Linked DNA regions of Homo sapiens: all the other regions are linked to region 5. The links are contacts of gene promoters, found by promoter capture Hi-C in blood cells and fetal thymus (Javierre and others, 2016). All regions are on one chromosome and are shown on one strand. Each heading gives the region's core, a stretch centred on a gene start or on the middle of the fragment in contact. The rest is flanking DNA. Distances are from core to core; before and after follow the strand shown. Region 1 overlaps CHD2 (chromodomain helicase DNA binding protein 2). Region 2 has its middle 47 kb from the start of CHASERR. Region 3 has its middle 90 kb from the start of CHASERR. Region 4 overlaps CHD2 (chromodomain helicase DNA binding protein 2). Region 5 holds the start of MCTP2 (multiple C2 and transmembrane domain containing 2). Region 6 holds the start of MIR3175 (microRNA 3175). Region 7 has its middle 64 kb from the start of CHASERR.

Region 1 (3,465 bases), core at 265-2,764, 1.3 Mb after region 5:
ACAGGCATCAAGAGTTTTTAAAGCTCTTCAGAAAGCTAAGTCTGTTCTATCTGTTTAAAAAAAAAAAAAAGTAGTGGCTCAGGCTCCAGAAATTAGCATTCTCTGTGAAACACTTCTACTTCAGGTTGTCTCCACTGCTTCCTTTAGCTCTACACATTATTACAGTTTTATTCACACCAAAACTTTTCTCTCCCACTTCTCTCAAATCCCATGGCATCTGATGATTTGATATGCACAAACTACAATGTTGTCATACCTTCTATTTCATCCTAAGTAGCTCTTCTATATGTGCCCCCCAAACAAAATACTTCATAATGCCAAATCCAAGCTCGACACTGATTGTAAAATGTTGCTGTTAGCGAGAGCAAGAACATTAAGCCACACTGTATCAGAAGTCCAACAAATTTGAGACATGGCAAATATATTTTTCAGGACTTAGTCACCAAAAGAGTACAGAGATCAGAACCTTCTTATATTAATTCTATTGCCCAACTCTCCCCTACTCCTGCCTTACTGCTCTTCCACGCCCAAGGATTTGGTATCTGGAAGCTACCAGGAGAACCACTCTGTTGTCAACCCAGAACAGGGGAGATAAATAAGCACATATTTATTTTTCTGGAGTGACAACAAAACACCATCTTTTATATGAGAGATTTCTCATTTTCTTCTCAAGGCAAAAGAATTGCACTATAAATTGTTTCTGAAACAGAATACATTAAGCGAGAGAGACTTTCCCCTTGATGCAGAGCCCAAGTTGCTCAAATAACAAAGCCATGCATAGTATACCTCAGACCCATCTGCATTGAAGTGGTCCAGTGCCTGTTTTCGGATTTCTCCCTTGATGGAACCATCCAGACGCTGTAAAAATAAACCACAAGAAAACTGTAAGATAGGAAGATCAGCTACACTCAGAATAGAACAGCAGACTTGGAACCTTTATCACCTGAACACCCACTGAGTAAAAATAACTGCAAAGCACTGGCAAAGCGCTATGAAGAAGCTGTGCTTAAGAAGCACACCCTACCCTACTCGACCTGAGCTCTCCAGTTACAGACTCAAGGTTACAAGCTTCTGATTCAAAGGGCTGTCCAGGTTTAGCCAAGGATCAGAATGGCTGCCAGGACCTAAAAGGAGAAAGACGAAAACCCAACCTGTGCTTGGAGGCTGGGTTTACTTCTGTTTCTGTAGGTACTGCAGAGATTAGGAAATAGGACCACGGGTCACCCAATAATAAGCTCCTGCAGAAAAATGATGCTTCTTAGCTAATGTGGCTAAAACTATCACTTAAAGTGTCACACAAACCAAAAATTTATTTATATAATAATTTTGTTTGAAAAACATTTTGCTGAATCATTGAAAATGTTAAAATTGATCATATATCCCAGCTTTGCCAAAAATTACACTCTGAAATCATAGTAAAGTGTTCAAGCAGCTAAACTACATGAGAATTCAAGAAAGCCCCTGGCATTTATTAGCATACACAATTCCTTTATTAGAACATATGTCAGTTCTACATGCAATACAATGTCACCATAGAGAAACCATTGACACATAAAATACTAAAGAATTATCACCTGCATGCTGTACATTTTATAAAGCATTTCTTACTCTTTAAAATCATTTTTGCATTTCATCCCCTCACAATCACCACTTGAGATGAACAAAATACTTCATTTTACAGAAGGCAAAACTAACCTGAAAGGTGACTTGGCTGGCAGCAGACTCTGTGGAAGGGCCTACATACCCAGAACTCTGCCCACCAGACCTAACTCAAGTCAACTGACAGGTGAGGAGTCCCTTACTTCTTTCTCACTGACTACTCTACTCAGAGCCTTAAACCGAAGACGTATTCAATGGGAGATTCAGAGCCTTTACTTGAAATCAGAAAACCTAATGCCGCCTTTTAATATTCCCATTAGTAGAGGGCATTAATTATCTAAAAGTCACTGACCAAGCTTATCTATTCCCTAGAGAGAAAAACGATGCATTCTTGATTTACTTGGTATCACGGGATTTCCTAGGAATGAAAGCTCATAGGGATTCGATTCACTGACAGAGAAGTGACTTTTTGCAATAGGCTGTTTCTTGATAACAAGCACAGCCTTAAGCTATATTCTAAGACAGCAACTGAAAGACCATATAAGATATTATGGATATAACAATGCCTTTCAGGGTATTTTGAAAGATAATCAATCTGATAGTCTCAAAGGTGGGCCTTCTTAGGAGATAATCATTGGTCCAAGTTTCTTCAATCCCAACATAATTATGTGAGTTGGTAGAAGAGTTCATCCATTCAAAGTTTTAAAAAAAATGTAATAAATCTTAAAAATCAAAGCACTATAAACATGCCAAGAGACAAGGTAAATTGCGTATATGTCTATGTGTCTATAAATAGATCAGAGAATAAGTTTCTACTAGATTATATACACCTAGAAAAATGTTACTATGCGGAAGAAATTTTCCCCATAGGAGATAACTGTGTGAAGACAGTAACTCCAGTTAAGGAACTCCACAGAAAATAGGGGAAGCCATCATCACTTACTTCAGGGAGTAGCAAGGTTTTAAGTAGCAGTGTTCTGCTATGTTCCCAGCCTCACAGCCAGGGTCAACTTTTGGGGGGAATGTCTGATACTGCCCTCTCCTTCTAGGATTTGGGCTCCTGGAATTGAGCTCACACTTACTTCCTCTCTACTTTCACCATACACATGCAATAAGATGCCATCTGACATCCTTTTTTTATCTTGCCCCGTTTGACTTTCTCTAATCCTCCCCACCCACCTTCAAAAAAAGAATCGTCTCCTCATGACCACTTTCATATGGTAGCCTAAAGGCATGCAAGTAAAAATTAAGACCCTCCTGGAATCTTTTTTTTTTTTTTTTTTTTTTGAGACGGAGTCTCGCTCTGTCGCCCAGGCTGGAGTGCAGTGGCGGGATCTCGGCTCACTGCAAGCTCCGCCTCCCGGGTTCACGCCATTCTCCTGCCTCAGCCTCCCAAGTAGCTGGGACTACAGGCGCCCGCCACTACGCCCGGCTAATTTTTTGTATTTTTAGTAGAGACGGGGTTTCACCGTTTTAGCCGGGATGGTCTTGATCTCCTGACCTCGTGATCCGCCCGCCTCGGCCTCCCAAAGTGCTGGGATTACAGGCGTGAGCCACCGCGCCCGGCCCCCTGGAATCTTAACCTTAACTTCTTTGAAACAAGAAAACTCTTACTTCCTACTTTAACAAGCAAAGCATACAACCCAGTGTAGGAAGGTTGGGGAGGGGAGGCGGAGAGAGAGATTGATTCCCCCCACAGCAATTACTGAAATCACCTTACCTGGAAAGGATAGTGTTTAATAGTTAGGTATTCAGCCAGGATATCCAACATTCTCACCATCTGAGAGAAGATAAGCACTCGATTCCCCCTTTCTCGAAGTCTTGTCAACAGTTTGTCTAATAAAATCAACTTCCCACTGCTCCTTA
Region 2 (3,702 bases), core at 815-3,314, 1.4 Mb after region 5:
AGAGTAGCTGGGACTACAGGCGCTCGCCACCATGCCTGGCTAATTTTTTTGTATTTTTAGTAGAGACGGGGTTTCACCATGTTAGCCAGGATGGTCTTGATCTCCTGACCTCATGATCTGTCCACCTTGGCCTCCCAAAGTGCTGGGATTACAGGCGTGAGCCACCGTGCCAGGCCAAGCTTGTGGTATTTTCGTGCTGTTGTCACTGATGTTGATCGGTTGAGCTGCCTTCTGGATGCTTTTTCTGAGCTATACCTCGCCTTAGCTGTATGAATTTTCTGACTCCAGTCCTATAGAGAAAACTCTACGGTAATATATGCCTTGCTGGCCGGGAAGGACGTGCCATAAGCTCCCCTCCCTGCCCCCACATACATGACATGAGAGATCTCAGAGGGGCCTACAGGGCGCAGCAGCAAAGACACAAGCAGATTCACTATGCGTGGCCTGTCAAAAGCTTCAGATCAGAAACAACCTCAGGGATCCTAGGGGATGGTTAGGTAAATGATGGTGCATCTCTAAAATAGAAAACTGTGCCACCCCTTTAAAAAAGTGCTTTCGGTATTATGAGGGATAATTTCCAAGCCATATTGTTAATTAGAAATAAAAAGGAAGATCAGAACAGTGTGTGTGGTATGTGCCTACTTCTGTGATTAAAAAATATTTACCTCGGCCAGATGCGGTGGCTCATGCCTGTAATCCCAGCACTTTGGGAGGCCGAGGCAGAAAGTCAAATAGTGGATCACCTGAGGTCAGGAGTTCGAGACCAGCCTGACCAACATAATGAAACCCCATCTCTACTAAAAAATATAAAAATTAGCCAGGCGTGGTATGGTGGTGCCAGCTACTTGGGAGGCTGAGGCAGGAGAACTGCATGAACCCGGCAGGTGGAGGCTACAGTGAGTCAAGAATGCACCACTGCACTCTAGCCCAGACAACAAGAGCGAAACTCCATTTCAAAAAAACAAAAAACAGGTGGAGGTATAAAAAGCTGAATAGAAAATGCATCTATTTGTTTAAAAAAAGAGAAAGGAGTGACATTTATATTAATGGGAAGGGTGGCTCCATCTTGACTCACTGCAACTTCCACCTCCCTGGTTCAAGAGATTTTCCTGCCTCAGCCTCCCAAGTACCTGGGATTACAGGAGTGTGCCACCATGCCCGGCTAATTTTTTGTGTGTTTTTAGTAGAGATGGGGTTTCACCATGTTGGCTAGGCTGGTCTCAAACTCGTGACGTCAGGCAACCCACACACCTTGGCCTCCCAAAGTTCTGGAATTACAGGCGTGAGCCACTGTGCCCGGCCTAAACATTTGTTTTAGAGAGACAGTGTCTCCCTGTGTTGCCCAGGCTGATTTCAGATTCCTGGGCTCAAATAATCCTCCCGCCTTGCCCTCCCAAAGTCCTGGGATTACAGGTATTTGCCACCCTGCCTGGCCGAGATATATTTTCTAAGCCTCAGTTTCTTCACCCAAAAAGTAGGAAAGAAGGTGGAATTGAAGAGAATAATGTTATTAATGATACCATAAGGTTGTTTTTAACAGTGGCTTTCAATAAATGTCGCTTCATAACATGGTGGATTCTGGAGCCAGACAGCCTGGGCTTAAATCACAGCTAAACCCCCTTTACTAGTTTTGTGACTTTGGGAAAGTTAATTAATCTCTGCACCTTGGTTCATTCATTTGTAAAATGGGCATTTTACTAGTACCTATATCACAGATTTTTATGAGTCACAAATTAATATATGTGAAATGCTTAGAACAGTCCCTGGTACTACTTTTCAACTGAATAAGGCCTTAAACGAAACTTTTATTCTATTTATATACAAATATATATATAAAATATACATAACATTTATATATAAATAACATATATATAACATATATGTGTGTGTGTGTTTGTGTGTGTGTGTGTGTATATATATATATTTTTTTTTATTTTGAGACAGAGTCTCGCTCTGTTGCCCAGGCTGGAGTGCAATGGCACAATCTCGGCTCACTGCAACCTCCGCCTCCTGGGTTCAAGTGATTCTCCTGCCTCAGTCTCCTGAGTAGCTGGGATTACAGGTGCCTGCCACCATGCCCAGCTAGTTTTTTGTATTTTTAGTAGAAACGGGGTTTCATTATTTTGGTCATGCTGGTCTCAAACTCCTGACCTCAGGTGATCCACCCATCCTGGCCTCCCTAAGTGCTGGGATTACAGGTATGAGCCACCGTGCCCGGCCTATTTATATATAATTTTTGAGACAGAGTCTCGCTCTGTCACCCAGGCTGGAGTCAAGTGGCGCGATCTCGGCTCACTGCAAACTCCACTTCCTGGGTTCAAATGATTCTTCCACCTCAGCCTCCTGAGTAGTTGGGGCTACAGGTGAACACCACCACGCCTGGCTAATTTTTGTATTTTTAGTAGAGACGAGGTTTCACCATGTTGGCCAGGCTGGTCTTGAACTGCTGACCTCAAGTGATTTTTATTTTAAATGATAGGGAACATAGTCCAGAGAAAGACATGCTTTAAAAAAGACTGTTGATCAGTAAGACAGCCAGGAACAAAACCCAATCTCCCAAATCCCAGTCTAGAATATTTTCCACTGTTTACTTCAGGCAAAAATACATTCCACATTGTGGTATAAAATTAGAAAAAAATGAAGAAAAGCCTATTTTGGATCAAATAAAAGGATACTGGGTTCAAATTTAGTTGTGTGGTCAAAGCCAAATTTCATAAACTCTCCAATCCTGCTCTTCCCTGGGAAAAAGATGAGGATAAAAATATGTACCTCGTAGTGTTGTCGTGGTAAGTAAGTTTATATATGTGAAATGCCTAACAAATAGCATTTCTCCATTAATGGAAATAATAATAATGCTAATTAACAGTCAATAGGTGATAGTATAGTTAGAATCAAGAATCCCCCATCTGTGGATAGACAGTTTTATTCTTCTCTTTCAGGGCTTGCAAATTAACTTGATAAATCATGATGTGGAGAATTATATTTATATACTTTATATATAATAATAACTATACAGACGCAGTTGGTAACAATTATTTTAAAACATATTGGAAGTATAAGCATAAATTCTAGTATCAGGGGTAGGGGTGAGCTGGTCTTATGAAATGTGACAATGAACTATCATGGTGAATAAGATTGGTTTCTGAATTGGGTAATAATATTTCTGATCAAAAGTAGATGTGTGGCCGGGCGCGGTGGCTCATGCTGTAATCCCAGCACTTTGGGAGGCTGAGGCAGGTGGATCACCTGAGGTCAGGAGTTTGAGACCAGCCTGGCCAACGTGGTGAAACCCCGACTCTACTAAAAATAGAAAAAATTAACCAGGCATGGTGGCGAGTGCCTGTAATCCCAGCTACTCAGGAGACTGAGGCAGGAGAATCGCTTGAAACCGGGAGGTGGAGGTTGCAGTGAGCCAAGATAGCACTATTGCACCCTAGCCCGGGCAACAACAGCGAAACTCCACCTCAAAGAAAAAAAAAGGAAAGAAATCAGTTTGGTACTTTCTCATAAAGTTAACCATAATCTTACTATAGTAGTTATCTTTTCCTGTATAGCAAATCGCTCCCAAATTTAGTGGCTTAAAATAGCAATAATTTTCTTCTTCTTCCTCTTTTTTTAATATCTCATGGTTTCTACAGGTCAGAATTGAGACAGTTAAGACCAACAAAGCTTACAGAGTAAAAAAAATTAAAATTAAAAAAA
Region 3 (3,884 bases), core at 431-2,930, 1.4 Mb after region 5:
TGCCTCAGCCTCCCCAGTATTTGGGATTACAGGCGTGTGCCGTGACTAATTTTTGTATTTTTAGTGGAGACGGGGGTTTTGCCATGTTGCCCGGGCTGGTCTCAAACTCCTGACCTCAAGTGATCTGCCTGTCTCTGGCTCCCAGAGTGCTGGGATTACAGGCATGAGGCACCATGCCCAGCCGACATATTTTGTAAACAGGGAGAAAAATAGGTGGTTCTTAAAATTTCAGTAAAATGTTCACATTCTTTCTTATATAACAACAGAGGACCACTGAGTGCCCTCACCTTGAAGACCCCAGGACACCTGGATACACAGGATTTCTGTATGGCTTCTTTATTTTATTTTTATTTTTTGAGATGGAGTCGCTCTCTGTCACCCAGGCTGGAGTGCAGTGCTGTGATCTCGGCTCACTGCAACCTCTGCCTCTCGGGTTCGAGTGATTCTCCTGCCTCAGCCTCCCAAATAGCTGGGACCACAGGCGTGTGCCACCACGCCTGGCTAACTTTTGTATTTTTAGTAGAGACGGGGTTTCACAAAGTTGGCTGGGCTGGTCTGGAACTGCTGACCTCAAGTGGTCTGCCTGCCTCTGCCTCCCAAAGTGCTGGGATTACAGGTGTGAGCCACCACGCCCGGCCTCTGCCTGGCTTCTTATAGATGGTTTCTCTTGGTGTATGTTTCCTAGGCTTTTTGACTTTGTGGACTAGAAAGCTCTGGTCTCCAAGTCCCTACAAACTTCTGGATCTTCTACAGATTAAACATTTTAACAGTCTTCATAAAGTGCATTTGAAATCTAAGGTAAACATTCATTACCTGTACACCAACCACCTCAAAGGTTTTATGAAATAAGATGGAATATACATAAAATGCATGAGACAGGTGTACTTTGCTTTATGTGTTTGTGACACGTTCACACAAGTAAATTTTTAAATTTTTGGTGAGGAGATAAATTTGGCAATTTTTTTTTTTTGAGACAGAGTCTCACTCTGTCACCCAGGCTAGAGTGCAGTGGCGTGATCTCTGCTCGCCGCAATCTCTGCCTCCCCGGTTTAAGCAGTTCTCCTGCCTCAGCCTCCTGAGTAGCTGGGATTACAGGTGCATGGCACCAAGCCCAGCTAATTTTTTTTTTTGTATTTTTAGTACAGACAGGGTTTCATCATGTTGGCCAGGCTGGTCTGGAACTCCTGACCTCAGGTGATCCACCTGCCTTGGCCTCCCAAAGTGTTGGGCTTACAGGCATGCCCCACTGCTCCCCGCCAGGCAATTTTTTTTTTACCAAGAGTAAATTCAAAGGAGCCTGAGCATTAGTTTTAACAGGTAAGTCGGGTAGAAGATCAGGGAGCATGCCATAAGTGGCATGTACACTATATTATAAAGAGGAGTGGTTTTAAACCTTTTTTTTGAGACAGCGTCTCCCTCTGTCATCCAGGTTGGAGTGCAGTGCAACCTCCACCTCCCAGGCTCAAGCAATCCTCCCACCTCAGCCTCCAGAGTAGCTGGCACTACAGGTCATGCTACCATGCCCGGCTAATTTTTTGTAGAGAAGGGGTTTCACCACGTTGCCCAGGCTGGTCTCAAACTCCTGACCTCAAGTCATCTGCCTGCCTCAGCCTCCCAAAGTGATGGGATTACAGCAGTGATCCACCAGGCCCAGCAGTTTTAAACTTGAACTTACATCTGTGCTTGTTAAAGCACAGATTCCTAAGCTCCATCCCCAGAGATTCTGATTCAGTAGGGCTGGGGCCAGGCCTAATATATATATATATATATTTTTTAGACAGAATCTTGCTCTATTGCCCAGGCTGGAGTGCAGTGGCACGATCTCAGTTCACTGCAACATTTGTCTCCCGGGCTCAAGAAATTCTCCTGCCTCAGCCTCCCAATTAACTGGGATTACAGGCGTCTGCCACCACGCGTGGCTAATTTTTGTATTTTTGGTAGAGACAGGGTTTCACCATATTGGCCAGGCTGGCCTCGAACTCCTGACCTTAGGTAATCCGTCTGCCTTGGCCTCCCAAAGTGCTGGGATTACAGGTGTGAGCCACTGCGCCTGGCGAGAATTTGAGTTTCTAACAAGCTCCTGGGGGATGTGAATGCTGCTGGCTCAGGGATGGCACTTGGAGAACCATCAGAGCAATGAATTATGCCCTGACTTACAGTAGCCTGTGTCCTGCTTCCTGTCTTTTTCTGGAGAGGTAAAAATTGAGGTAGCCTCCCTGTTACTTGTTCCCCCTTTGAAAGAAAGCAGGAGAGAAGGATTTCTTTTCTGCTTTAGTCTCTATGCCTCATGTCTTTTTTGTTGTTGTTAAAAAAAAAAAATAGAGACGGAGTCTCCCCATGTTGCCCAGGCTGGTCTTGAACTCCTGGGCTCAGGAGATCCTCCTGTCTCTGCCTCCCAAGGTGTTGGAATTACAGGCGTGAGCCACCGTGCCCGGCAGTTTGCCTCATGTTTTATCCAGCATGACAAAAATTGGGCAGCGGTCAGTGTAAGAGGCAATGGTGAGTCCCCTTTCACCTATGGATCTGTGTCTGGTTCCTCTTCATATTCTGGAAGCCCTAATAAATGTCCACTATGGCCAGGTGAGAGATCTCAGACTGCCACAGGCCTGAGTGGTTGTACTTTGGAGATGTCTTTGGCTAGCCTGTGTAGGTATGTGCGTTTGCGACCTGTGATGGAGGCTGTCATCGCCCTGCCAGGGTTGTGGTTCCTGTCTCCTCTCCTTCTGGCTTTCTACCTGGCTCCCTCTAATCCAGTTTCCAAGTGGAAGCCAGAGCCCACCTAAAACACAGGATAGGAGGTCTGTGTGCTACATACATCTTTAGTTGCTCTTGCTTCTTAGAGAATAGAATCTCTTCTTTAGCAGGGTACCTGAGGTCTTTACCTCTGGTCTCTGTTCACTTCGTCTTATCTCTGGTTCAGCTTTTTTGGTTTTCCACATCCTGAACTTAATGCCTATAATGTCCTCATGTCATTTCTTTGCCTATTTAATTTCCTTTTGTCTTTCTTAGTCCACAGATAAGTCTTTACATAAATCTCTGTGTGATTCTGGCACATATAGTTTTATTGAATGATTGAACAAATGCATGAATGAATAAATAAGTATACAGGAAATTGATTTTTAAAAAGCTGTAGTAAAATACATATAACATACAATTGGCCATCTTAACAATTTTTTTAACCTTTTTTTGTTTTTTTTTGAGATGGAGTTTTGCTCTTGTTGCCCAGGTAGGAGTGCAATGGCATGATCTCGGCTCACTGCAACCTCTGCCTCCTTGGTGCAAGTGATTATATTGCCTCAGCCTCCCGAGTAACTGGGATTACAGCCATGCGCCACCACGCCCGGCTAGTTTTGTATTTTTAGTAGAGACGGGATTTCTCCATGTTGGTCAGGCTGGTCTGAAACTCCCCACCTCAGGTGATCCACCTGCCTTGGCCTCTCAAAATGCTGGGATTACCGGCATGAGCCACCTCGCTTGGCATCTTTTTTTTTTTTTTTTAGTCTTGCCTCTGCCTCTTGGGTTCAACTGATACTCCTGCTTCAGCCACCTGAGTAGCTGGGATTACAGGTGTGCACCACCACGCCCAGCTAATTTTTGTATTTTTAGTAGAGACAGGGTTTCACCATGTTGTCCAGACTGGTCTTGAACTCCTGGCCTCATGTAATCCACCTGCCTCGACCCCCAAAAAGGCTGGGAGGATTACAGGTGTGAGCCACTGCTCCCGGCTATCTTAACCATTTTTTTTTTTGAGATGGAGTCTCGCTCTGTTACCCAAGCTGGAGTGCAGAGGCACAATCTCAGCTCACTGCAGCCTCTGCCTCCCAGGCTCAAGCGATTCTCCTGCCTCAGCCTCCCAAGTAGCTGGGATTACAGGTGTGCACCAC
Region 4 (3,895 bases), core at 289-2,788, 1.2 Mb after region 5:
GCTGCGGCAGGAGAATCACTTGAACCCAGGAGGTGGAAGCTGCTGTGAGCCCAGATCGCGCCACTGCACTCTACCCTGGGTGACAAAGCAAGACTCCATCTCAAAAAGCAACTCATAATAAATAAATAAATATCTGTATGTATGACTCAAATCCATGCTAGTTCCTGTACACACTGCTGATCCTCTTGGAGCTAATATCCAAGTACAATTACACTCTCAGAAATTCCATAAAGTTGTCACTGAAATAGCACACTAAATGATACCAACTTACTATTCACTTTACTTAGACCAGAGGTTACAAACTGGCAAGCCAAACCTGACCCACAGGAGTTTTGTTAACAGAACTCCATAGCAGCTGCCCCCTTTACATTAGGCATGAGCTCTCTGGTTAACCACAGTCCTGACCACTCCCCGTCATTTGCAAGAATGAGGCTACGTGTCAATCGCCATTTATCATTAAAACTTTAGGACGGGCGCGGTGACTCACGCCTGTAATCCCAGCACTTTGGGAGGCCGAGGCAGGAAGATCACCTGAGGTCAGGAGTTTTGAGACCAGCCTGGCCAACATGGTGAAACCCCATCTCTACTTACAATACAAAAATGAGCCTGGCGTGGTGGCAGGTGCCTGTAATCCCAGCTACTTGGGAGGTTGAAGCAGGAGAATTGCTTGAACCTGGGAGGCAGAGATTGCAGCGAGCCAGGATTGTGCCATTGCACTCCAGCCTCGCGGACAAGAGCGAGACTTCATCTCAAAAACAAACAAACAAACAACAACAACAAAAATGTCATAGTCCCCTTCATTTACTTCCATTATGTACAAATTTGCAGTTGCTGACTTAAACTATCCTCGCTGACAGATTAAGCGAAGACTTACATATTCTATTTCCATTTAATCCACTCGTAAACCAAACACATTTCAGATGATTTTATTCCAGCTGGCATGATAAGTATAGCTAAAATAAATAAATAACCCTCAACCGAAACCCCACTTCATACTTTCACTTCTCCCTCTTCTGATGGATTATCTGAATGCCTAGGAGATGAAAGCTCAATTCCATGCTCCTCTTTCAGCCTGGGCACTTTGTTTTCCTTCTTTACCCGAGGCTTCCGCTTCTTTAATTTGGCCTGGAAAAGGAGAGAAAATGATGATTAAAATACAAATCAAGACACTCAAAAGCATAACCAAACAACATGATGACTCTTTAAAGCAGTAGCAGCCATATAATTCAAACAAGAAAATTCCAAAGAAATCAAAAGAGTGCAACTCATTTTACCTCACAAGACCAAACCAAAACAAATAAAAACCTATAGGCCTTATACATGGCCTATACCACATTAAAATGTCCATATTCCTTTTTCGTTTTTTTTTCCGAGATGGAGTCTTGCACTGTCACCCAGGCTGGAGTGTAGAGGTGCCATCTTGCCTCACTGCAACCTCTGCCTCCCGGGTTCAAGCGATTCTCCTGCCTCAGCCTCTCGAGTAGCTAAGTGGGACTACAAGCACATGCCACCACCACTGGCTAATTTTTTGTGTGTCTTTAGTAGAAACAGGGTTTCGCCATGTTGGTCAGGCTGGTCTCGAACTCCTGACTTCAGGTGATCCACCCACCTCAGCCTCCCAAAGTGCTGGGATTACAGGTGTGAGCCACCTTGCCAGCCAAAATATCCATATTCCTTAAACCTACTGATTCCACATCTTTGGAATCCATCCTAAAGACACAATTTTTTTTAAAAAAGGAAAATCACTCTGTATACAAAAGTACAAATAAAGATAATATATTAAAGACATAATAGTAACATTAAAAAACCTGAAAGCAAGTTACATATAATAAGGAAAAGGTTAAAATACTGTTTATCTGCCTAATCAGATATGATCTGTAACATGATCTAACCTCTGCCTTTCCAGAGCCTAACACATAATATATTGCATACTCAACATATTATATGAAGAATGAGACTTATGACCCTATTACTTGAAAAAAATGAGGTGTGGTATTATGGGTTTTTTTCCTCAAATTTGCTTTGCTTATAATAATACAGGGAAATCAATATAAATGACATAGCTGCAAGAGCACTTAAAGAACATGCACACATGGGCTGCTAGTACAGGGTGTAACTTGTATTTCTTAGCTGGGATTCCATCTTTCTGGGCCTGAACTGAAATTATAAATTGGGGAAACAAAAGGAGATAAAGCTCAGCTGAGTTCACTGAGAATTTAGTTGGTATTTCACACAGCAAGTAAGGTCTAGTTTCTGAATTAACTGTGCATTACAACTGTCCATTTTATCTCTGGGATCCACTATTACAAGAACCACAGAGACAGACAGAACAACAGGCAAACCCACAGGTATTCAATGCAGTAACTGCAACTATGTTCCAAAATTGAGAAAGTAGGATAAAGAAACAGTAACAGTATGTGTGGAATAGTGGGACTGGGGAGCAGAGGATGAATTTGAAGCAACATTTCAGAAGGATGGGTTTGTAAGAAAGCTGCCAAGATGCCGTGGTCTTAAATGAATTTTTTTTTTTTTTTTTTTTTTTTTTTTTTTTTTGAGACGGAGTCTCGCTCTGTTGCCCAGGCCGGAGTGCAGTGGCCCGAACTCGGCTCACTGCAAGCTCCGCCTCCCGGGTTCACACCATTCTCCTGCCTCAGCCTCCTAAGTAGCTGGGATTACAGGCGTGTGCCACCACGCCCGGCTAATTTTTTTGTATTTTTAGTAGAGACGGGGTTTCACCATATTAGCCAGGATGGTCTCAATCTCCTGACCTTGTGATCCGCCCGCCTCAGCCTCCCAAAGTGCTGGGATTACAGGCATGAGCCACTGCGCCAGGCCTAAATGAACATTTCTATTATTACCAAGCAAAGCATCATTACTGGAACCTCAAAAACAAAATATGCCCATGAGAAGGTGACATTCTGTGCAGTGCTCAGAGAGGGCCTCTCTCTTCCTACCTAATTCTGCAGGGTAGGAGCCTCAGGCCCCTGAAAAACAACCAGCTGGCAGCGTACTCACCTCTTCCCCACCTGTCACAGCCCCCTTCTTCTCCAGACCCTTTCTGAGCAGCTTCAACAAGTAATCCGCTCGGGTCTGTAGCTGCTTCCCCTGAGGCTTTTTATCTGTCTCCACCGGCAGAATCTTCAACAAGAAAGGAAGAGAAGCACCCGCCACCACCCACATCCTGGTTAGTGGATCAGGATAAACAGAGACAACAAAAACTGAGCACAGTCCTTTCCCTCCCCAACCACCCAAAATATAGATAAAGCCTCAGATCCTATCTCATGTCCATGGCTCCCAGTCACTGAAAATCCCTCACGAGCCGTTCTCATTTTACAAAATGGGATGGAGAAATCCAGCTCTCCCAATGGCTCCTACCTGTGCTGTTAACAGGGTAGAACAACTCAGGTAGGAGGGGCTTGTGGCTTCATCTGCTAGAGCATCCCAGCCGTCGTGGATTTCCTCCTTCCAGGAGCAGGGAATCCCTGGAGCTAGGTTAAAGCTTCGTTTTAGATTGAAAATGCTTCTTAGAGCATTGCCGGAGAGCACTGAGCTACGCCAGGACATGATCTGTTCCTTGCTACAACAACTGGGTCTCTTGCCAGACTGAATCTGGTCTCAGTGCTTAAGGCAGGGTGCTGTCACCCTCCTAAAACCAGATGGGATGAGCACTGTTGAACTGCCAGGAGCACAACATGGAGCAAATCCTACCAAAATTTGAGCCAGTCAGCCTTCCCTGCTTATAGCTCCAACCATGGCCTTGCTACTTGCAACAGATAGGGTGGGAGGCTCGATTTTGTGGGAGAAGAACAGCCAATGTTTAATTCCATTACAAAGAATACCAAGGTGACATTCAATCTTTACGTGAGGAAGTGAAATATGGTTGTTTCAAATGTAC
Region 5 (3,605 bases), core at 745-3,244:
AAGAGACCGCTAATCATCTTGCAGCTGTAAGAAATCAAGCTGAAATTGATTTCAAAGCCCACTCAGCTGAGAAACTCACCTCTGCAGGAGGAGACCATAGTAAAGCACACCAATAATAGGAAATTAGCTGTTCCTTCCATGTATAACACAGAGAGAATATATATGCAATTTTATTAATTGGCCCTGTTTGGATATATCAGGCCTTTCAAAATATGTTAAGAGACATAATAAATTTTATCTTTTAACATATTTTGAAAGGCCTTTCAAAATATGTTAAGACACATAATAAATTTTATCTTTTAAAGCTACATCTACTAGTCACAGATAGGTCACAGCTTGACCACACAAGTGCAATGAAAACAGTGCTCACTTCATTCCTGAGGACTACTTTAACTCCATTAATCCCCAGGAGATAGGATCTATGAATATAAATTTGAATTCTTATATTAAATCTGCCGGATTTACACTCTCCATCTTAGAGACAGCATGGAATAGTGAAAAAGTACGAGTTCTGCACTCAGAAATAGCCACATGCAATTTCTAAATTCACCACTGACCTTGTACAAATTACTGGACTCCTCTCTGCCTCAGTTCCTTATCTGCACAGGGGAATAGTATCTACTTTGTAGATTTCATAGACAAGACAAAGTGCCTAGCATGGTGCTTGGCACAGAGCTAATTCTTAATAATCTTATTTTAAGCATGGTTTTGACAATTTTTATTGCTTTGGAATGACTGATCAGGCTAATGACAGAGACTCTTCAAAGATTTACATTCTCCCTGCATTTAAATACTTATAACCAGCGATTACACAGGTGCTGCTGAGGCAAAGCGCAGCACCATTGGTCTCGTTCTAAACACCCACCTGTGAGGAATAAGTGCCTTAAGATTCCCCTTTGTATTAATATCAACACCTGTGCTACCCAACAGCACACCAGCCCGGCTCTCAGAGGTCTGCCCGTTAACAGGTGTACAATAAATATTTGTTGAATTGAAATGCTACTGACTCAAGCAAAAAATGAATGCTAATGTAAATTATAATCCATACAAATCCTTCAATAAGTGGTGTCTGAATTCTGTGCGTCCTGAAGCAAGTGTTCTAACGTCTCACGGTTCACTGAGAAGCTGCTTGGTACCTTAAGGGTTCGCACCCTTGTACCTTCCAGACCAAGCTCTTGTAAGCATCTAGAGGAGGCTGAAACCCTCAGTCAGCATCGCACAGAAGTTCATTCAGACTAGAGAAAACCTCTTTTATGGCAACCCAATCATTTAAAAAAAGCCGTCAGCACATTTGCTTAACAAATGGACAGTGCAGGAGGGAACTAATTGCGGAAACTAATCGCCACTCAAGTTCACCACCAACATCACTGTCTTTATTTTTAACTTACTTATCTTCAGTGGGATTGAGACACTGTTTGTTACCTACGCAATTATCCCAAGGATTTCTGCTCCGGTGTCGTTGAGCAAATGTCAGCGCAAAGAATTAAAGTTGAACCTCCGGGTCTCTACGAAGAGAGCGTATTAAAGCCCACCCAGCTGAGGAACTGACCTCTGTGGAAGGAGTCCTGGATGTGGCGGTGACTACCTCCGTAGCGCCCCGGGGAGACTGAATGTGTGGCCTTTAAAATGCAAAGAAATTCTGGGCCAGGCTGCCCTCCCCTAGTGCGCCTTCCAGTACGCCACGCCTGGATTTCTGCCTCCAGTCCTCAGGACACCTTTCTGATCTCTGAACCACAAGCAGCTCCGGGGTAGTAGCGCCACTGAATTCTCATCCTGGACCCTCCAGCTCCCCAACTCCCAGCTTCGGTTGAGAGAAGACGCCCACCCCCAGGCGGCGACCGTGCTGCCCGGCCCACGCGCGCTGCCAGGTGAACCCGGCACCGCCCTCACCTGTGCGAGGCCGCGTTCGGGGGCTGCAAAGCTGGGCAGGCGCGCGCCCCTCACCTGCACCGGACCCGCTGCAGTCGCCACTCGGAAGCGCAGGGAGCAACCCTGACGCGGCGGGGGCGGGGGCATCACCGAGGGCCCCCGGACTTCCTCGGGCCCCCCCACCGCCCTTGCGAGCCCCGCCTAAAGGGGAGGAGGCGGCCGCGCGTCACCTTTGAGCAGCCTCCGACCCAAGCGCCCGCGCTGCCGCCGGGAGCTCGGCCGGGTGTTGCAAGGAGGCGCTATGCTTGGTGCTGGGCACTGGCTGGGCGTAGAGAAGGCGATTACTTGTAACTCATTCGTTTGGGTTGGCTCACAGGAAAAGGAAGGTGTGTCCAAAAAGTCCGAAGTGAGGAAATAGGACGAGGATGGCTTGCAAACTCGTAAAGTCTTAATAAGCTGTCTTCGCTGATACTCAGAAGGGTTCTCTTCGCTCCTGTAGGTCCCTAATAGATTCATGGGAAGACAGCAGCCTCCCTTTGTAACGCCCTGACCCTGGGAAGAGGTACCCGAGCCAGACAGCCTATTAACCTATGCCACGTGTGCGCGACTGTGGGTGGAAGATGCCCGCCCAGATCCACAGAACTGTTTCCTGAGCCTTGGTGCCTCATCTATGAGATAAGGCCGGCGTACTGCTCAGCAAGCCGTCCCGAGTACTCGGCAGAGAACCCTAAAGACCCTCCCGTGCGATTGTTGGCACTCAGCGAATATTTGCTATTTATTTCCCCTTTCCCTTACTTTCTTTTTCTACTTTTTTTTACGCCGCTTTCCTGCTGTAATTGTCTTATTGCACTTTGTTTGCTCGGTTTCACTGCCTGGTCAGTTTCTTTTCCCGTCTATGAACGAGCCTAAGTCTGTGCGCTCTAGGAATTTGGGTGGATTAGGAAAAGAAATGTATGATCCATGCCTTCTGGGAGATCAGGGACTCATCTCTGGGAAATAGCATTTTTAAATTAGATACAAGAGAGTTACAGAAAATAACCTTAAAACGGGAATGGGACCTCTGGGAATAGGCGAGCTCTGAAATGAAGCGTTTAGTTGGTGTCACTGGTGATTAAGAGCTCCGGCTTTGGAGTCAGACCTCAAATCAAATTCTGCCTGGGCAACTAATTGTGTAAATGGACGAGTTCACTTAACCTCTCTAAATTTTAACTTCAACAAACTGGTTGTTTAAATAGCTTAAAATAGCTTAAATAGCTTAAAATAATAGCTATCTCATACTTTCTGAGAAATTAATTAGGTAATTCACATAAAATCCTCATTACAGTGTCCTGGGCCATGGTAACCACTTAATAAAAGTTAGCTATTAACAATACTAAGGTAGGAAATGGGAGGAAGGGGCATAAAAATTTAGAAAACATGAGGACGTGATAGAAAACAGCTGCCACTGTCATGCAATTCCGACTTACAACAATAGCTACCACTGAGGAACACAACTTCGCACCAGTTTCTGTGATTGGCATGTAACACGTGATCATATTGAATTTTCACAAACCAGGAGACAGTTAATAAAATCTCTGATTCAAGATGAGGAAAATGAGCATCAGAACCATGAAATAACCTGCCTGAAGCTATGAGTCAAGTTAGTAGCCGAGTCAGAGCAAGCTGAGGCCTATGGCAAAATTGGCTTTTCCCACCGTGCCGAAGGTTACATCCCCTAGCAGAGAACAGAGAGAGGT
Region 6 (3,434 bases), core at 790-3,289, 1.3 Mb after region 5:
TACAATCCAGCCTGGACATTGGATGACTAAGTTTTGTTACTCAGGCTTTATACTGATAACCCTAAAGTTCCAAAACAAGTTGTGAATGGCAGCTTTGCAAAGGTATACATGTGAACTCAACGCTTAGTCAAGCTGAAGTGCAGGAGGGAGTTACTCAGCTGTGACACACCCAGTGTAACCAAGCCACAAAGTTACTTTCACCTGTACACAAAATACTCTTAGAGGAATTTTTTTTTAAGTTTCTTTGTTCAAGTGACACCATATCAAGAAAGCCAAGTTCTTCAAGGAAGCAAAGTTCTAAGGTTACCAAGAAGCAGCTAAAAACTAAAGGATCTTAAAAAAAAAAAAAAAAAAAAGATGGCTCATAGCAAGAAAAAATTTAATGGCTGACACAGAGCAGTCACTCAATTTTTATACCAGAAACAAACTTAGTGTATCAAATTTTATGGGAGAAATGATAGGAGTTTGGAAATACCAGGTGGTCTCAGGAGGTCTCTCATAACTGTCAGTTGTTTTATTTGGGGGTAAGGGAGAGTAAACTAATGATAAAATCTGTGAGTTTTAGTTAAAATTCAAATAAACTTCCAGATTCACTCCTCAAGCAATAACTTGCTACAACTGTCACAACCAAAAGTCTTTATCAAAAATATTATTTGCCCACCTTCCTCTGCTGACTTAATCTTTACAAAGATACTAACTCCCTAACGGCCAAATACTAGTTGGAAAGTGCATATTTTAAACGGCAAGGATACAGAGAGAGAGAGAGAAAGAGAGAGAAATCGATCAACACTCTTTTCTTGCTGCTTGATGCTATTCCCCACATCAAAGGGAAAAAAAGTAGAAGGCTCAACAAACATACCTAAGAACACTGGTTCTATAAAAAACTTAATTGGCTGCAAGATTGTCAACAGTTAATAGGTAAATTGTTATATCATGGTATGCATTTTAACTCATAATGGTATTTAGGTTAAAATATCTTAAATAACAGAATAGTTCATATCCTCTTCAAAAATAATTAACTGCAATGTTGACTACTTTGACCCCAGTTTTAGGAATTGAAAGGTATTCAGCAAATACTATTAACACAACTAATTAGAATTCAGTCTCTACACAAAAAGGGAGGTGAGATTATTACTTTCGTTCTTGTGGCAGGTATACTTTAAGTTGGAAGCTACAGTTAAACGTTCATCAAGTTCTATAAACACTTAATTCTCTGTTAGCATTTTATACGCAATATACATTTGAGCATATAATTTTAAAATCAGGTACAAATTATTTGATGAACACTTCTCTGTAACAGAAAAAGCAATTTCAGCTAGTTTTCACAAACTATCCAAATAATTCTTCCCAAAGAACCTAGATTATGAGAACCTACAAAACTCACTATCATAGTGAATTCTAACTTTCACAGACTGTATTCAGAAACTTGACATACGCCCAAGCAAATATCACCTGCACTGAAGGGTCAACATCTCCTTTGAAGTAACACACTTTACTAAAATAACTCTAAACTATGGCTAACTACAGGACAGCCTACTCCAACTGCTAAAAAAACTCTAGTATGGCAGGAAAAAAACTTTGTCCACAGTAGATAAATCCACTGAATTTCTTGCTTGCTTAAATTCAGTATGTGTAATTTAATTATTAAGACATCGTTGCTGAACGATGAAGTTTTAACCAGAAATCCTTGTAAAGGTTTCCAAACAAGGCAAATCAGTGAGCATAAACCCAACCGTTTACCGGGACTCAGAATTCCCGAAATGGAGGCCTAGGGAAGATAATTGCGAAGATTTGGCCAAGTGACCCCACTATCAGCCAAGCTGTCAGTCACCCTGCATTAGCAAGTGCTATTAACACTTAAAAGAGTAGTTTTCTGACATTTACTTACATAGTAATGGTTGCCTAACGCTGTATTCTGCCACTTTTTAATGTTATTGAACGTGAAATTTTCTATTTTCTACTAAACTATCCCACTGTGAATCTTAAATATATAGTACTTAGCACATACTGACCTGAGTTTTTCTCCATCAAATGCCAACTGAGAAAATGTACGGTACCAAGTAAAAACGCATGGGGACAAGTTCAAATAATCTTCCCTTTGTTTATGAGCCATGTATTAAACAGCTGTTAACACCCGTCAAGAGGTTTTCACTAAAATAAAAGTATCCGCCTCTGACACTCAAACGTTTTGGTCAATTGTAACAAAATTAAACCCACTCATCTCTTCACACTGAACGGGGGCGGGGAGAAGGGACGCTAAGGTATGAAAAGGGAAAATGTAAAACTGGGCAAATTTTCTATTTTAAGATTTCCAAATAGTGCCTTTAAAATTTATAAATAGTGCCTGCACTTTTTCTCCAAAAGCAGCCGCTTCTCAAAGAGGATAAACCATTCCCGGAAATGGGCAAAAGAACACACTACAGGGTGCGGACCGCTACAGGCAAGGGCGGACAAGACTGCCAGGAGCAAACGCGTCCAGGAAAGAAGCCGCCCACCGGAAAGTCCCAACTAGAGTTCCCTTCCTTTTCCCCTCGGCGTGCGGCTCCCTGGGTAGGGGGAGGAGAAAGCGCCCGACATGCGCACGCGGCCAGACGTCACTGCGTTCTCTCCCCGCCCCCCAGGGGAGCCGTCTGACGTCACGGGGCGGAGGCTGCCGAAGGCGCCGCCGTTGACCCTGCTGTTACCAGGCGCGCGCACAGCCAATCAGCACCCCGCGCCGGCGCCGGCCGGCCTTTGAACTCGGCACGGCAACTTCCTGCTGTTTGGCGAGTACACAGTGCAATGCAGTATGTCTGTCAGCGCTGCGGCACAAAGGAACAGCCATTTTGTGACTGAGCTGGACCTGCATCAAGATGCCAGGGGCTCAAAGAGCTGCTGCGTGCCCTATCGAACTGCCTTTTATGTCGGCACCAGAGTTCCCCAGAAGAGCAGAGAGGGGGAAGGAAATAGGCTTTGGTATTTCAGATTTCTATTAGTTTAGATTCAGTCTTCTCCAAAATCCCGTTTTTTAATGTATTATCAGCGTCATAAAATGGCTGCCAGTTAAACTGCCTGTTCTAGTACACAAGTAACTGCATTATGCCATTTCTAATCATCCCCAGCCTTTTAGAATATCTGGTAAAGCGCCCCTGAAAATTGTAGGATTTACCCGCACCTCAGGTTATAAAAATAAATCTGGCTCAAAGGCAGACGATTTGGAGATAAATTTAATAAACTCGTTCAATTCTTAAGATAAATTGCTAACGTGGTGCCGTGGAGAACACACTGAACTCTTTGTGTGCACACAGTCCCGTTTTCATTCTTTGATGTTACTTAAGTTATCCCCAAGCTGCAAATTATTCAGATAAAAAGTATGGTATACTTCTCGTATGTCCATCATTAGAACTTTGTTTTAAATACTTAGAAATTTTACAAATATCAATCAAATGTTTTTA
Region 7 (3,873 bases), core at 1,163-3,662, 1.4 Mb after region 5:
ATCAAAAGCAACAACGAATGCAAAAGCCCTGCCACAGAAAGGCTGAGACCATGGCTTACACACCTGGTGGCACTCCCTTGATTTTTCTCATCCAGACAACATAACTGAACGGATTTTTGTAAGGTTGTAACAGTAAATAAATATTGACATTGAACAGGCTGAAAGCCAGCCATATAACTCTTGCTTTCCGCTAAGCTCAACAGTGTGCAACTGGCTTTGTTCCTGGCGCACTAAAACAGGATTCGGAGGCCATCTTGGAAACAAAAGGGCCCTGGGCGCCGGGGGTGGAGGAGGCGGTATCCTGGCAACGGAGGCGCGCGCCCTGCCGCGCAGCCGCATTTTGCCGCGCCCAGCATCCCGCCGCGTCGGCGGGGCGGTGGAAAATTACCGCAGATTCCTCTTAAAGGCGCCCTGACATTTCCTGCCTGAAACCTGTGCGCTGGTCGGCCTGGGTTGCGGCTCCTGGGAAGCCAAAACGTGAAATGGGGTTTCCATCCTGTCTTCCTAGAGGAAATAAAATTCAGGTCGAAGACAGTTCCCAGGGTAGCAGTAGTCTCTAACTGGGCAAATAGTGTCGGAGAATAGGCTTCCTCAAATTAAGGGAAAAAAAAAAGAAAAAACCCCAAACCAAACCAAACTAAAATAAACCCTAAAATATTGACTCGGGCAAAAGAGAGCTACTCAACACGGGAACGGAACAAAAGAAACAACTTCACAAAGTCACACTGACTGTGTAACAGGTTTAAAAAATGAATGGGTCCTGAAGCAACGATAACTCATTTTTGACAAATGGATGGACAAATTATAGCTTACCAGGAATGACCAGAAAAAAGAATTAACTTATTTGAGAAGCTAAGCATGATCAGAAAACGTATCATCTCTTTGTAGATCAGTTCTTAACAGTAGAATAAGTAATCCCTCTTCCTTTGTCCTCAAATTACTTTCGTTCAGGTTAGTCACTTCTGTGATTTACAAGTTAAGCGGTAGTTTATTGCTGTCTTGCTTTTCTGACAGAAGAAATAAATAACAATGCCCCGGGTTTTTGCAACGTAAACATCCAGGATATATCCTACGGGAGTCCATGGCTCTGAAATTAATCTCCTTACCAAGCAAAATTTACTGGGAGCCCTCCTTGAAATAACTGAATAAAAAAGAAATATTGGTCTCCCGGAAGTAGAGCTCTTGACACATTAAATATCTCTTCAGTCCATTTCCAAAGATGAAAGATACAGCCCTTCGCTGGGTGCCTTCTCTGATGGTTTGCTCGGTGGTAGATGTCTGTTTGCTGTAATCTGCTGTCAGGCATACCCGTCCACTCCTCCTGAACCCTGCTCTGATGGCAGGCATGACTGTGGCCATCAGGATGGCTTCTCATGAAATATAGAGGACAGAGATGTTCCAGTCTTATCATGGCCTTGGCAAATTGATTTTTCGTTCCCGGATTGAGCCATTTTCCCCATGCTTCTCAGCCATATTCAGCCACATTTATTGCACCTCCACCCCAACCCCCTTTTAACATATCCCTTTTTTCCCTAACGTAAATGCTCCGAAATTCCAGTCACCACTTCTTAGTAATTTCTGACGGACGTTTCATGTTTTTCAGAATGCGGAGCTGTGATATTTGAGTACTAAACAAATGTTTTGCATGAGTTTAGACACCTAGGGACAGTGTTAGCCGGTAATTTTCAAGTTTGGATGTTGAAGGGATGGCGACTTATCACAGGGAAAATTAATTACGTGCAATGAAAAGGTTGTAGTGTAGAACTGTCATCCACTTTGAAGCTTCAAGGGAACGCGATTTAATGTGATAGGAACTGTGACTGTAAAACAAAAATATGTGCAGCTGCAGTTGGTGCCCACATTTTTGGTTTTGATGCTCATTTACCAGTACTAAGAAACTGAAATCTGAAAATGCCTTCTTTCAGATCACCTGGTGGCTCTAACTTTTGCAAAAGTCGTGGAAAGCCTAATGTATAATAATATGTAATGGCTGCCAAGCTAGGTCGGCGCAGAGACCGGGTTGGGTAGTGTCACTCCCACCTTTCCTCTGCAGGGAAGTGGCATTTTACAGCCCAGACAGCTCTGCAGGGTTTCTAATGGCCTACAGCAGCCCCATCGCCATACCTGGAGATAATCTTCCTTTAACTAAGACGTACTGCAGAATAGAGACTTCAAGAAAATATACAGAGAATGCCAGCGGAAAGATACAGGGGCATTTGCCCTCTCAAATACAATTCTGTTAAGTGGCTAAACTCTGATGTTTAAAATATAATAAAATAATTTTGAAGAAAGCAAAGTGTTTAAATGTATGTAAAAAAGCAAGGAGAGTTGGAGGACTGGCTATCTAATAAAGATGATAAAATTGCATAGTTCATAAAATTATCTAAGAACAGGATCTGAGTGCAAGAAGGCAGGGTTTGGAAATTTGGCCTTTGAGGTAAGGCCGCCAGATAAAATACATCAGTCAAATTTGAATTTTTGATAAACTGAATAATTTTTTTAGTGTAAGTAATATTTGGGACATACATTTAAAAAGATAGTTTGTGGTTTGTGATTCAAATTTAACTGGGCAACTTGGACTTTTATTTACTAAATCTAGCAATCCTAGTTTAAGGGTCTACACACTTACAGAGGGCATATGTAATTAGGTTTCTACACCTTCATCAGAATGGCAAACAACACCAGAAAGCCTCCAGTTCAAGGTGCCCAGCCAAGATGCGAATGTGACAAACACAGCATACAGGTGTGTTGCCCCTAATAAGTAACTTCAGGGATGGCCTCCAAGTGCAGCCCATCCAAATATTATGAGCACTTACTATTAACTTGTTCATTCATCCATTCATGCAACAATTATTTATTGAGTGCCTGCTGCGTGCCAGGCATAAATTTTGGGAAAAGTAAGATAAACAAAGAAAAAATCCCTGTCTCTGAAGGGTTCTTATTTTTGTCTGGAGGACTAACATGTAAAATGATAATTGCCATAAATGACAAGTGATCACATAGTTTGATTAGAGAGAGAGCAGAAACATCAAGTTAAGCTTATCTAAGATTGATGGCAGGGGCGGGGGACAGAGAAACTTCAAAGAGGAAGTGACTTCGATGAGCTGGTCTCAAAGGAGTCTAAGCTGGCAGAGTTGGGAAGGACCTCAGTAAAGAGAACGGCATGAATAAAGGCTAGAAGTGGGTGAGGACGTTGTGGATATTTAAAAAACAAAACAAGACAAAAGCAACAAATTACAAAAACATAGTGAAAAGTCAGCTATAGCAGGAGCCACCGGAGGAAGGTTTGCTGGAGATGTCTGATAATATAGGCTGGGGTGACATTGTAAAAGTGAGTCTATAGAGCTCAAAGTCTCCTGTGCACAAGCAGACTAGGATAAGGGTGATGGTGAAAGAGATCAGTGATGGGAGACTTTTTCCATTAACTCTTTTTTTTTTTTTTGAGACGGAGTTTCGCTGTTGTTGCCCAGGCTGGAGTGCAATGGCGCGATCTCAGCTCACTGCAACCTCTGCCTCCCAGAGTCAAGCGATTCTCCTGCCTCAGCCTCCCTAGTAGCTGGGATCACAGGCATGTGCCACCACGCCCGGCTAATTTTGTATTTTTAGTAGAGATGGGGTTTCTCCATCTTGGTCAGGCTGGTCTCAAACTCCCGACCTCAGGTGATCCGCCCACCTCGGCCTCCCAAAGTGCTGGGATTATAGGCATGAGCCACCGCGCCTGGCCATCCATCCATTAACTCTTAAAAAATGTAAAGAGATTAAAACTGACTTAAAAAAATGTGTATGTGCACGTGTATCACTTTGCAATGGATCCTAGGAACATAAAAATGAATACGGTATCAATCTTACCTTCTAGATAGTCTAGGTTTCCCA

The links. The method cuts DNA at HindIII sites, captures the fragments that hold promoters and counts their contacts. A CHiCAGO score of 5 or more calls a contact.
Region 1: a contact is called between a fragment that was not itself captured here and the fragment with the promoter of MCTP2 in region 5, in 1 of 17 cell types (erythroblasts). The highest score is 6.2, in erythroblasts.
Region 2: a contact is called between a fragment that was not itself captured here and the fragment with the promoter of MCTP2 in region 5, in 2 of 17 cell types (naive CD8 T cells and erythroblasts). The highest score is 8.0, in naive CD8 T cells.
Region 3: a fragment that was not itself captured here is called in contact with the fragment with the promoter of MCTP2 in region 5 in 1 of 17 cell types (neutrophils); the score reaches 5.4 in neutrophils.
Region 4: a contact is called between a fragment that was not itself captured here and the fragment with the promoter of MCTP2 in region 5, in 3 of 17 cell types (megakaryocytes, M0 macrophages and naive CD8 T cells). The highest score is 7.6, in megakaryocytes.
Region 6: a fragment that was not itself captured here is called in contact with the fragment with the promoter of MCTP2 in region 5 in 2 of 17 cell types (total B cells and neutrophils); the score reaches 6.7 in total B cells.
Region 7: a fragment that was not itself captured here is called in contact with the fragment with the promoter of MCTP2 in region 5 in 2 of 17 cell types (total B cells and monocytes); the score reaches 7.5 in total B cells.

Annotation. Positions count from the first base shown.
Region 1 is chr15:92,972,272-92,975,736 of GRCh38, reverse strand. CHD2 (chromodomain helicase DNA binding protein 2) reads right to left here. Exons shown (of 39, transcript NM_001271.4): 19 at 3,320-3,465; 20 at 787-858. Among named protein-coding and RNA genes, the nearest start is that of MIR3175, 70 kb to the right of the region's middle. The HindIII fragment of the contact is 887 bases long and covers 1,071-1,957 here.
Region 2 is chr15:92,834,312-92,838,013 of GRCh38, reverse strand. No RefSeq gene overlaps it. Among named protein-coding and RNA genes, the nearest start is that of CHASERR, 47 kb to the left of the region's middle. The HindIII fragment of the contact is 3,215 bases long and covers 457-3,671 here.
Region 3 is chr15:92,790,898-92,794,781 of GRCh38, reverse strand. No RefSeq gene overlaps it. Among named protein-coding and RNA genes, the nearest start is that of CHASERR, 90 kb to the left of the region's middle. The HindIII fragment of the contact is 6,180 bases long and covers 1-3,884 here.
Region 4 is chr15:92,997,742-93,001,636 of GRCh38, reverse strand. It overlaps CHD2 (chromodomain helicase DNA binding protein 2), which reads right to left. Exons shown (of 39, transcript NM_001271.4): 31 at 3,016-3,138; 32 at 997-1,125. Among named protein-coding and RNA genes, the nearest start is that of RGMA, 90 kb to the left of the region's middle. The HindIII fragment of the contact is 3,926 bases long and covers 1-3,501 here.
Region 5 is chr15:94,229,950-94,233,554 of GRCh38, reverse strand. It overlaps MCTP2 (multiple C2 and transmembrane domain containing 2), which reads right to left and starts at 1,994. Exons shown (of 23, transcript NM_001385001.1): 1 at 1,891-1,994. RefSeq lists a silencer at 1,935-2,064 and an enhancer at 3,600-3,605. The HindIII fragment of the contact is 9,020 bases long and covers 1-3,605 here.
Region 6 is chr15:92,903,587-92,907,020 of GRCh38, reverse strand. All of the region lies in intron 2 of CHD2 (chromodomain helicase DNA binding protein 2), which reads right to left. It overlaps MIR3175 (microRNA 3175), which reads right to left and starts at 2,622; the gene lies at 2,546-2,622. RefSeq lists enhancers at 2,329-2,568, 2,849-3,028, 1,890-3,089 and a silencer at 2,729-2,778. The HindIII fragment of the contact is 5,562 bases long and covers 1-3,434 here.
Region 7 is chr15:92,816,939-92,820,811 of GRCh38, reverse strand. No RefSeq gene overlaps it. Among named protein-coding and RNA genes, the nearest start is that of CHASERR, 64 kb to the left of the region's middle. RefSeq lists a cis regulatory region at 308-323, a silencer at 292-351 and enhancers at 244-388, 1-417, 239-533, 31-578. The HindIII fragment of the contact is 1,256 bases long and covers 1,785-3,040 here.